Regions from separate parts of the Homo sapiens genome. Here region 2 is linked to region 1. Evidence: promoter capture Hi-C in human tissues and cell types (Jung and others, 2019). All regions are on one chromosome and are shown on one strand. Each heading gives the region's core, a stretch centred on a gene start or on the middle of the fragment in contact. The rest is flanking DNA. Distances are from core to core; before and after follow the strand shown. Region 1 holds the start of FBRS (fibrosin). Region 2 overlaps LOC124903678 (a long non-coding RNA gene).

Region 1 (6,912 bases), core at 1,960-4,459:
TCTCAAAAAACCCCCTTGAAGCCTGGCTGCAGCCTGGTCCCAGCCTCCTTCCCTGAGTATCCAGTGGGCAGGAGACGGGGGATAATGCAGTGAATCCTGTTTGTCCCTGAGCCTTGACCTTCTTGGCAGGTTGGGTTCAACCAAAGGGAAGGAGCCAAGAGCCTCAAAGGACCAGGTGCTTTCAGAACCTGAGACCAAGGTAGGCATTCAGATCGGGTAGAAGAGACTAGTGGGGGCCTGAGCCCATGTCACTCTTTCACCCTCTGCCCCATTTTTGCAGACCATGGGAAAGGTTTCTCGATTCAGAATACGCAGAACACCAGCCCGTCCTCAGCTAAACCTTACACCAATGGGACTGCCTCGACCAATCAGGTGAGGGGCTCACTGGGCATTGAGCCATCTTGGCCAAACAGATGCAGGCTTATGTCCCCTGAAGTATAGCTTTGTCTCCCCTCAGGGAGCACAGTCCAGCCTGAAAGATTCAATTCGGTGTGGGGATGGTTTGTGCTCAAAATTGCCTGTCTGCCTTATGTAGCACTCCTGGCCCTGACATGTCCCAGAAACTGAAATACAGACCAGGCCTTACCTGTCCCTTCAGGCCCCACTGGCCCAAGGTTTCTCAGTGGCCTCTGCTCTTTGCTCACAGGTTGAACAAGAAGGAGTTCAGCTTGGAAGAAATTTACACCAACAAGAATTACCAATCACCCACAACCAGGAGGTGAGACACTTGGAAGGCTAGAGGGTGGCAGAGGGAAATCTGGAGCTGTGGAGCACCCTGATAAAACCAGCTCCTCTCCCTGCCTTGTTCAGGACCTTTGAGACCATCTTTGAGGAACCCCGGGAGCGCAATGGGACTCTGATTTTCACCAGCTCAAGGAAGCTCCGGCGGGCTGTGGAATTTCGGGACAGCAGCCTTCCTCGATCACGAAGACCGTCCCGTGGGGTCCGGGCTGCAGGGGGCAGGACTGTTCCTCCCAATGTGGCCCCCAGCCCTGATGTGGGCCCCCTGCTCCAGCAGCGGCTGGAGGAGCTAGATGCCTTGCTCCTGGAGGAAGAAACAGTAGATCGGGAGCAGCCCCACTGGACCTAGGTGCCCCATCTGTTGGTCATCCATCCTGAAGGGACAGGAAACCTCCCAGGCAGTTATTTTTTTTTCTCTATATTTCTAGTAAAGTTTTCGATATGTTTCTGATTCTTTTGTATCTCTAGCTGAGTTTAAGATTGATTTGGCTGATGTTTCTACGTTGACCCCCAAAGGTCTGGGAACTGGGGCTGGTGCTAGAGATGGTGACAGGGGTTGGGTACAGAGTACAGGGAGGGGGTGAAGTGGTCACTTGAGATAGATAGATAGATAGATAGATAGATAGATAGATAGATAGATGATAGATATAGATGGAGTTCCGCTCATGTCACTCAGGCTGGAGTACAATGGCACGATCTTGGCTCACTGCAACCTCTGTCTCCCTCATTCAAGCGATTCTCCTGCCTCAGCCTCCCAAGTATCTGGGATTACAGGCGTGCGCTACCACACCCGCTAATTTTTGTATTTTTAGTAGAAACTGGGCTTCACCATGTTGGCCAGGATGGTCTTGAACATCTGACCTCAGGAAATCCGCCTGCTTTGGCCTCCCTAAGTGCTGGGATTACAGGCATGAGCCACCATGCCCGGCCTAGAGATACTCTCTTGCTTAGAGGATTCTCCTGTGTGGAGGGACACTTCTGAATCAGTGCCAGATGATACTGTGACCCTAGACCGTGGTCTGGGTTCTCCCAATTCATTTATATCAAGGAGACTGAAAGGCCTATAGTGGGTCAAGGCCTTGAAGATCAAGATGGCCCTGAATTCCTGCTAACATGCAGGCCAGGACCTGCTGCTGGATTCAAGAGCTACGGCTAGGCCAGGTGCGGTGGCTTACGCCTGTAATCCCAGCGCTTTGGGAGGCCGAGGCAGGTGGATCACAGGAGCCTAGGAGTTCGAGACCAGCTTGGCCAACATGGTGAAACCCCGTCTCCACTAAAAATACAAATATTAGCTGGGTGTCTTGGTGTGTACCTGTAATCCCAGCTACTCAGGAGGCTGAGCCAGGAGAATTCACTTGAACCCGAGAGGCAGAGGTTGTAATGAGCTGAGATCGCACCACTGCACTCCAGCTTAGGGAACACAGCCAGACTCTGTCCCCCCCAAAAAAACAAAACAAAACAAAGAGCTAAGAGTAATGGGCCATAATGAAGCACTCACGACGACTGTCATAGGTGCTTGACCTGCACATGTCCCTGCGACAGGGAATTAGTCATTTTATGGACGAGAAAGCAAGGCAGGCATGTCAGCGCGCTGTCCACTTTTAAAACGGTAACCCGGGCAACCGAAGGCCAGAAATGGCTGTCTCTTTTTTTTTAAGCCAGTCACATTGAGCAGTGGGGTGCATCTTTCATAACTGAGAGGCATCACAGGGCAGTGGCTGACATAGACGTGGCTAGGAGACTACCAGCCCGTCTGTGCGCGCATTCCTTTCCGTCCCAGTAAAATGGGGCTGACAGCATCTCCTTCATGGAATTATTACCAAACGCAGTCACAAACGCGGAGAAGCGCTCATGCAGGTGCAAGGCGTTTTCGAATTGCTAGCACTCGGGACCGCTGCCAGCAGCCGCGCCTGGAAGGGACGCGGCTGCCTGTTAGTGCGGCCGGCGCAGGCGCAGGCACAGCACGCGGCCGCTCGGGCCACCCCGGGCCGCGGAACGACTCGCAAGCAGCCAGCCTGACGGCGGCGCCGCCACGCGCGTGCGCGAGACGCCAGGCTGTCTGTGGGCCGCGCCGAGCGGCGGAAAGGCGGCGATGACTTAACTGGCTGTGGAACGGAACCTCTTGCAGCCGCGCGCCCCCCGGCGGCCAACCGCCCCCAACGCCTCAGGCCCCGCGTCTCCGCCCCTCGCCTCGACGCCATCAGGAGACCGGCCAATAAACAAACAGCAGGAAGAGGCGGGGCCCTGTAGTAACCGCCCCAAACACCTACTTCTAACCAGTCGAGTCACAAGACTGGGGGGAAGGGCGGAGCCAATCCGACGTAACCCAATCCAAGATTTGAGGGCGGTTACATGCACCCACTCCCTCGGGTTTGGCTCCGCCCCTCACCTTGACGTAGCCCTCCCAGCCTATCAACGACTGCGCCCGTTGGGGGTGAGGGGAAGGGGGCGGAGCGTGGGAGGAGGCCGAGAGAGGAAGGAGGCGTAGGCTGAGGAGGAAGAGGGAGGAGGGGTAGGGAAGTCCTGGCGGAGAAGCGCCCTAAGACTCCAAAGGAGACAACAGGAGTTTGTGCTGGAGCTCCCCCGCTGCCCATCGGCCGTTCCGGATCCCCTAAGGCCCAAGTCGGACAGAGACGGAGGAAAGGAGGAAGAGACTTTTATGTCGGCGGACAGGGGAGCTGTACCCGTCACCGTTGCCTCACATCCGGGGCTTTGGAGGGCTGGCCTCGCTGCCCCGCCCCGCCTCGCGCCTTTCATGGCGACCGGAGGCGGAGGCTGGAGGAGCTGGGCCCGGAGGAGGCCCCTTTAAATCTCCTTAAAGGGGTGGCCACTGAACTCGGCGGACTGCAACGCCAGCCTTAAAGGGGAAGCCGCCGAGCAGACGCTGACAAATTGAGAACTGTGCCGTTGGGAGAACTGGGGCGAGTGGGGTTTTTCTTTACGTCCTCCTCCCCCACACACAAGAAGTCTTTTAAATTCAACTTAAAGGGGAAGTGGCCGCTTGTGGAGGACTAGAAACTAACTCCGAGCCCTTAAAGGGACGGCCTGCTGTTAGAAGGACCCTGGACTCCTTAAAGGGGTGGCCTCTTTGAGCCGGAGGACTTGAGACACTTTTAAAGGGGAGGTCTGCGTTTCGGGGCGAGCTTTCGGCCCCTTTTAAAGGGGTGGCCCTTCCTCTTCCTCGGGGAGACTTGCATCGACCCCTGGCAGGGGGTGGCCACCGCACTAGGCCGCCGGACACTGTCGGGTCGTCTTAAAGGGGCCGGGAGCTGGACAACTTGGGGCCTCGCCTTAAAGGGACGGCCGCCCCGTTTTCGCCGTCGCGGCCCCGCCGAGCCCGCAGGGGGGGCCCTCGGGCTTGTCGCCCCGGGGGCGGCGCCGGCTCCCCGGGCCGTGGCCTTGGGGCAAGCTCGGGGCCAGCAGATCCGGCTTTAAAGGAGAAGCCGTGGCCCTCTCGTCACTGTGCAGCCGCCAGCGCCGCGCCTGCGACCCCGGGCCTGCGGACAGGCCGCTTCGGGCCCCGCCGCCTCCGGATGCGGCGCTGAGGGCGGTCGCCATGGAGACGGCAGCGGCCGCGGCCCCGGGTCCGGGCTGGGCAGCAGAGGGGGAGCGCCGACGGCGGCGCTGCTCGCGCCGAGACCGAGACCGGGAGCAGCGGCGCCGCCGAGGTCCAGGCGGCGACGCGCCCCGGGCCCTGTTGGCCGCCCCGCGCGGCTCCTCGTCCTCGTCGTCGCCGCCGCCGCCCGCCAGGCCTTGGTCGTCAGCTTCGTCTGGAGAGCGGCCTGGGGGCCCGAGACGCCGGCGGCCCCGTCCGAGACCTCGACCCCCGCGACCCCGAGCTCGGAAGCGGCCTGCCGGCTCGGGCAGCCGCGGGGAGGAAGAGGAGGAGGAGGAGGAGGAGGGGGGCGCAGACGACGGCGAAGCCGAGGAGGAGCCTGAGGAGGAGGAAGAGGAGGAGGAGGACTTGATCGATGGCTTCGCCATCGCCAGCTTCGCCACCCTCGAGGCCTTGCAGGTGGGGCCTAATGGGGCTAGGAGACTTTGGGGGTTTCCGAGGGGCAGCAAGGAGGGGGCAGTGCCCCTAGTGGGTGGAGTTGAGGGGGGAATGCTGGCACCCCAAACCAGAGCAACCGGCTCCTCTGGCCAGGCCTCTGCCCCGCCCTGGGGTGGGAGGAGGTAGAGCTCGTCTCTGGGGACCCGGTTTCCCGGCCCGAGGGGTACTTCGGCAACCTGGTCACCCCTAGAGGGGTTGGGAGCTTGCCCTTTTCCATCTATCTCAGCCCCACCTCCTCCTCCACAGAAGGATGCATCTCTTCAGCCCCCAGAGCGACTGGAACATCGGCTGAAGCATTCTGGGAAGCGGAAAAGGGGGGGCTCCAGTGGGGCCACCGGGGAGCCAGGGGACAGCTCTGATCGAGAGCCTGGCCGGCCCCCTGGGGATCGGGCCCGAAAATGGCCCAATAAGCGGAGAAGAAAAGAGGTGAGGTTGTCCCTTAAAACTCTTTAGGCAGAATGTATTTCCCACAGCCCCGTTTTTCATCAGCAACGCCACTGCCCCTTGTAAACAGAGACCCCAGTTTCTAAGGGCAAAGAGGCAAGCAGGGCAAATTTGAGCCCTTACTCATCCGGGTCTGACGAAGGCCTGTCTACAGTCAGGTGCACCTCCTTTTGCCTGGTTCTGTGTCTACTTCAAACGTTTTGATAATTCAGAGAGGCGTCAAAGGAATATAGTTGGGTCGTAAATTAATTGTGGTTCCTGCCCTTCCTCGAGGTGGTGGCAGTCCAGCAGAAAAGAAATAGCCAGCAAGCAAACACCTAGACCTTAATTTGAGAAGCTACAGAAGACAAAGATGGGGAGAGATGCTACAGAAACCCACATGAGGAAGCCGCTTGTGCTGCCTGGGGGATGGGAGGAGAGTTGTGGTTGGGGAAAGCCCCCTAGGATGTCTTAGTCAGGTCCTGAAGTATAGTCAGAAGTTTGCTAAGAAAAGACACGGGGAAAAGTTGTTTTGGGCAAGAGCATGAAGACGTGAGGACCCGGCGTATTTAGAGAATGGTGAGAGCACTGGGACCCGGGTGGGCAGTGGCGGGAGAAGCAGCTGGAAGGAGAGGCTGAGAGTAGATCCTGGAGGCCCATGAGCGCCCTGCTGGGAGCTGCGACTTTCCCAGCTGCCTCAGCAGCCGCCTCCCTCACCTCTGGACTCTGGTCTTCCTCAGGCGTCCTCCCGTCACTCTCTGGAAGCTGGATACATAGTAAGTGCTATCCACCTGTCCTGGCCCCTCCCTGCTCCACCCTGGGCCTCTTCCCTCTCGTGACACCTCTGTCTTTCCTTCTCCCCAGTGTGACGCGGAAAGTGATCTGGACGAGAGGGTGAGTGGGGCTAGAGCTTGGGTGGGCAGTGTCACTGCTTGTAAAAGGGACTGCAGCATAAAGGTCTTCTGCGTGCAGCAGACAGCCTTCCCTTGAGTGAGAAACATGGCTTAGGTTGAGTCAGGATTAGGTTTTTGGGAGGAACGGGGGTGGATTGGGAGGGTAAATGGCGTCATTTTTTCTTTTGGTGACTAGGGGTTAGCTGACCAAGGAATGGAGGGTCCATGCTTTGGCATACTATCCTTTCCAAAGCCCTTGAGCTACTTCTGGTTCTCCACGGAAACCCAGAGTGGCTGTGGCACTGAGATGGGCCTTCTTCCCATCTTAGAATGAAGATCTAGATTCAAGTCTGAGCAGAGACCGCAGATAGAGTAGTGAGGACACTAAATCATTGTAGTCAGTGTAGGGACTCAGCCCATAAAGGTGTATTTGAGTTTATCCTTAGGGGCGATTTGCTTGTTGTGAGATAGTATGTCCTAGAAGTTAATGCGCTACCCATTGGGCCCATGTAAGTAACTCAATTTGCACTCCCTGATGTGTGTCTTGTTTTTGTTTCAAAAGTTGGCTGGATAGGACTGTGGTGAACCAGAGGGTTCTTGTCAATTTCCGTCATCCATCTCTATCTGTCTAGGCTGATTGTTGCTACGAGAACAGGGGGCCCATTCTTGAGGCAATCTGCAAGCCTGAGTTTTAATGAGGAATCTCCGGATTCTTAAATATCTGCAGTTGGTTTAAAACTTTTACCAACGCTGGTGGACCAAATAAATCTGTAAGCGAGGGAGGCCTGTGGGCCAGCAGCT
Region 2 (3,760 bases), core at 16-2,515, 45 kb before region 1:
GCAATTGGGAGAGCGTACATAAATAAGTCATAGGCCATGCTTTGAATGGAGCTTACAGTCTAGTAAAGCATATAAATTCACAATGAATCATAACAGAATGATACAAGCATGTATGTGAAAGGCACTGAACTGAAAATTGCTGATGGAACAAGCCAGCACCCACCCCATTAGCCTCCACATTTTTTTTTTTTTTTTTTTTTTGAGACGGAGTCTCGCTCTGTCACCCAGGCTGGAGGGCAGTGGCGCCATCTCGGCTCACTGCAAGCTCCGCCTCCCGGGCTCACGCCATTCTCCTGCCTCAGCCTCCCGGGTAGCTGGGACTACAGGCGCCCGCCACCACGCCCAGCTAATTTTTTGTATTTTTAGTAGAGACGGGGTTTCACCATGTTAGCCAGGATGGTCTTGATCTCCTGACCTCGTGATCCACCCGTCTCAGCCTCCCAAAGTGCTGGGATTACAGGCGTGAGCCACTGTGCCCAGCCCTTTTTTTTTTTTTTTTTAGACGGAGTCTTGCTCTGTTGCCCAGGCTAGAGTGCAGTGGTGCAAACTCGGCTCACTGCAACCTTGGCCTCCCGGGTTCAAGTGATTCTCCTGCCTCAGCCTCCCGAGTAGCTGAGATTACAGGCACCCGCCACTTTGCTCGGCTAATTTTTGTATTTTTAGTAGAGACGGGATTTCACCATCTTGGCCAGGCTGGTCTCGAACTCCTGACCTCATGATCCAACCACCTCTGCCTCCCAAAGTGCTGGGATTACAGGCATGAGCCACCACGCCCGCCCTAGCCCCTACTTCTATGTATGTGTTATACTGCAGAGTTTCACCAGCTCAATGCCACCCCCAAGGGTCCTGCGAGCAGGAGAATACACCATTTGCCATGTCTCTTAGCTAGTGACATGCACATCTATCTCTCTAACCCTTTAATCAATATTGTAAAGCATATACTATGGGCAAAACACTAACCTCAAAGCTTTCAAGGAATAAAGACAAACAATGTGGCAGGAAAAGTCACAAAATTAGAAGGCAATGAGGCCGGGAGCAGTGGCTCACACCTGTAATCCCAGCAGTTTGGGAGGCCGAGGTGGGTGGATCACGTGAGGCCAGGAGTTCAAGACCAGCCTGGCCAACATGGCAAAACCCTGTCTCTACTAAAAATACAAAAATTAGCCGGGCTTGGTGGCACATGCCTATAGTCCCTGCTACTTGGGAGGCTGAGGCATGAGAATTGTTTTCTGTTTTGTTTTGTTTTGTTTTGTTTTGAGACGGAGTTTTGCTCTTGTTCCCCAGGCTGAGTGCAATGGAGCAATCTCGGCTCACCACAACCTCCGCCTCCCGGATTCAAACGATTCTCCTGCCTCAGCCTCCCGAGTAGCTGGGATTACAGGCATGCGCCACTACACCCAGCTAATTTTGTATTTTTAGTAGAGATGGGGTTTCTTCATGTTGGTCAGGCTGGTCTTGAACTCCTGACCTCAGCTGATCTGTCCGCCTCGACCTCCCAAAGTGCTGGGATTACAGACATGAGCCACCAGGCCCAGCCGAAGAGAATTGTTTGAAACTGGAAGGCGGAGGTTGCAGTGATCCAAGATGGTGCCACTGCACTCCAGCCTGGGTGACAGAGTAAGACTAAGTCTCAAAAAAAAAAAAAAAAAAAAAGGCTGGGCTTGGTGGCTCACGCCTGTAATCCCAGCACTTTGGGAGGCCGAGGCGGGCAGATCACTAGGTCAGGAGATCAAGACCATCCTGGCTAACACGGTGAAACCCCGTCTCTACTAAAAATATAAAAAATTAGCCAGGCATGGTGGTGGGCTTCTGTAGTCCCAGCTACTCAGGAGGCTGAGGCAGGAGAATGGCGTGAACCCGGGAGGCGGAGCTTTCGACCGAGCGAGACTCGTCTCAAAAAAAAAAAAAAAAAAGAGGAAGGAGAAGAAAGAAGAAGGAGGAGGAGGATGAGGAGGCAGCAGTGAGATATTCAGAGGAAGGAGATGTTTGAACAGAGGTGGTGGAAAAAAAACTACAGTTACAGGCTAGGTGTGGTGGCTCACACCTATAATCCCAGCACTTTGGGAGGCCGAGGTGGGGGGATTGCTTGAGCCCAGGAGTTCAAGACCAGCCTGGCCACCATGGCAAAACCCTTTCTCTACAAAAAATACAAAAATTAACTAGGCATGGTGTCGGGCACTTATAGTCCCAGCTACTTGGGAAGCTGAGGTGGGGGGATCGATTGAGACTTGGGAGGTCAAGGCTACAGTAGCCAAGATTGCACCACTGCACTCCAGCCTGGGCGAAAGAATGAGATCCTGTCTCAAAAAACAAAAACAACAACAACAACAAAAAAAAAAGGCGGGAGCTCTAGCCTCCTAATTGTGGCTGGGCGTGTGGGCATGGTGGCTCATGCCTGTAGTCCCAGCCCTTTGGGAGGCTAAGGCGAGAGGATGACTTGAGCCCAAGAGTTCAAGGCTGCAGTTAACTATGATTATTACACCACTGCGCTCCAGCGTGGTCAACAGATTGAGACTCTGTGTTTAAATGAATAGAACAAAAACAAACAAACAAACAAAAAACCTGGGCTGCATGAATCTGTTAAGAAAAGTCAGGTCAGCTGGGCGTGGTGGCTCACACCTGTAATCCATCCCAGCACTTCAGGAGGCTGAGGCGGGTGGATTGCCTGAGGTCAGGAGTTCAAGACCAGCCTGACCCACATGGTGAAACCCTGTCTCTACTAAATACAAAAAATTAGCCGAGAGTGGTGGTGCATGCCTGTAATCCCAGCTACTTAGGAGGCTGAGGCAGGAGAATCGCTTGAACCGGGGAGGCTGAGGTTGCAGTGAGCCCAGATTGCACCATTGCACTCCAGCCTGGGCAACAAGAGTGAAACTCCATCTCAAAAAAGAAAAGAAAAGTCAGGCCAGGCACGATGGTTCGTGCCTATAATCCCAGCACTTTGGGAGGCTGAGGAGGGCAAATCACCTGAGGTCAGGAGTTCAAGACCAGCCTGACCAACATGGTGAAACTCCCTCTCTACTAAATACAAAAAAATTAGGCGGGTGTGGTGGCACATGCCTGTAATCCCAGCTACTTGGGAGGCTGAGGCAGGAGAATCGCTTGGACATGGGAGGCAGAGGTTGCAGTGAGCTGAGATCACATCACTGCACTCCAGCCTAGGGGACAAAGTGAGACTCCATCTAAAAAGGGAAAAGCCAAGCTTTTATTTCTTTTTTTCTTTTTTTTAGCAGGAGAAGCAGATGCCACACTCAGAGCAGGACTGAGGCTTCTCACCTGTATGCGTGTGCCTATGAATGGCCAAGGGAGCCTCTTTGGTGCACGCACCACACACAGTCAAAGCACCAGTAGGGCTTCTCTCCTGCATGGATAAGCTGGTGCTGGAGCAAGTTTCCCAGTCAGCAAGGGGAGTGCCACACTGTAGGCAGTGGTGGCAGTGCTCACCCAAGTGCATGTGCCTGGTGGTGGCCACAAGGGAGGGGAATGCAAACTGGCACCCACATCTGTGCACACATCCGCATATGTGCGTGGACAGCGCCCTCCTCAGGTGGAAGAGGTGGCTGCAGTCGGAGCCCTTGCAGAGCTCGTCCCCTGTGTGGGGGCAGCTGGTGCTGGACCAGGTGAGCTCTCTGGGAGAATTAGACACTGCATGACCCACAAATGTGGCTGTCGGTTCGGGACTGAACAAAGGAGGACGAACGCAGAAATGGAGACAAAGAAAAGGATCTGTTTTAAAGAAAGTGTCGGGGGCTCCTTGCTT

The links. Contacts are between HindIII fragments. The study calls those that stand out against the background at their distance.
Region 2: a fragment that was not itself captured here is called in contact with the fragment with the promoter of FBRS in region 1 in 1 of the 25 tissues and cell types used here (H1 embryonic stem cells).

What each region holds. Positions count from the first base shown.
Region 1 is chr16:30,655,222-30,662,133 of GRCh38, forward strand. It overlaps FBRS (fibrosin), which reads left to right and starts at 3,210. Exons shown (of 18, transcript NM_001105079.3): 1 at 3,210-4,756; 2 at 5,042-5,221; 3 at 5,959-5,994; 4 at 6,083-6,112. The coding sequence starts at 4,298. It overlaps PRR14 (proline rich 14), which reads left to right. Exons shown (of 12, transcript NM_024031.5): 9 at 130-199; 10 at 281-372; 11 at 647-718; 12 at 811-1,192. The coding sequence ends at 1,090. RefSeq lists silencers at 2,626-2,885, 2,916-2,995, 3,046-3,225, 4,046-4,275, 4,346-4,395 and enhancers at 3,476-3,925, 5,606-5,765. The HindIII fragment of the contact is 17,048 bases long and covers 1-6,912 here.
Region 2 is chr16:30,612,022-30,615,781 of GRCh38, forward strand. It overlaps LOC124903678 (a long non-coding RNA gene), which reads left to right. Exons shown (of 2, transcript XR_007065051.1): 2 at 3,231-3,760. Among named protein-coding and RNA genes, the nearest start is that of ZNF689, 3.5 kb to the left of the region's middle. RefSeq lists a silencer at 3,598-3,760. The HindIII fragment of the contact is 7,596 bases long and covers 1-3,760 here.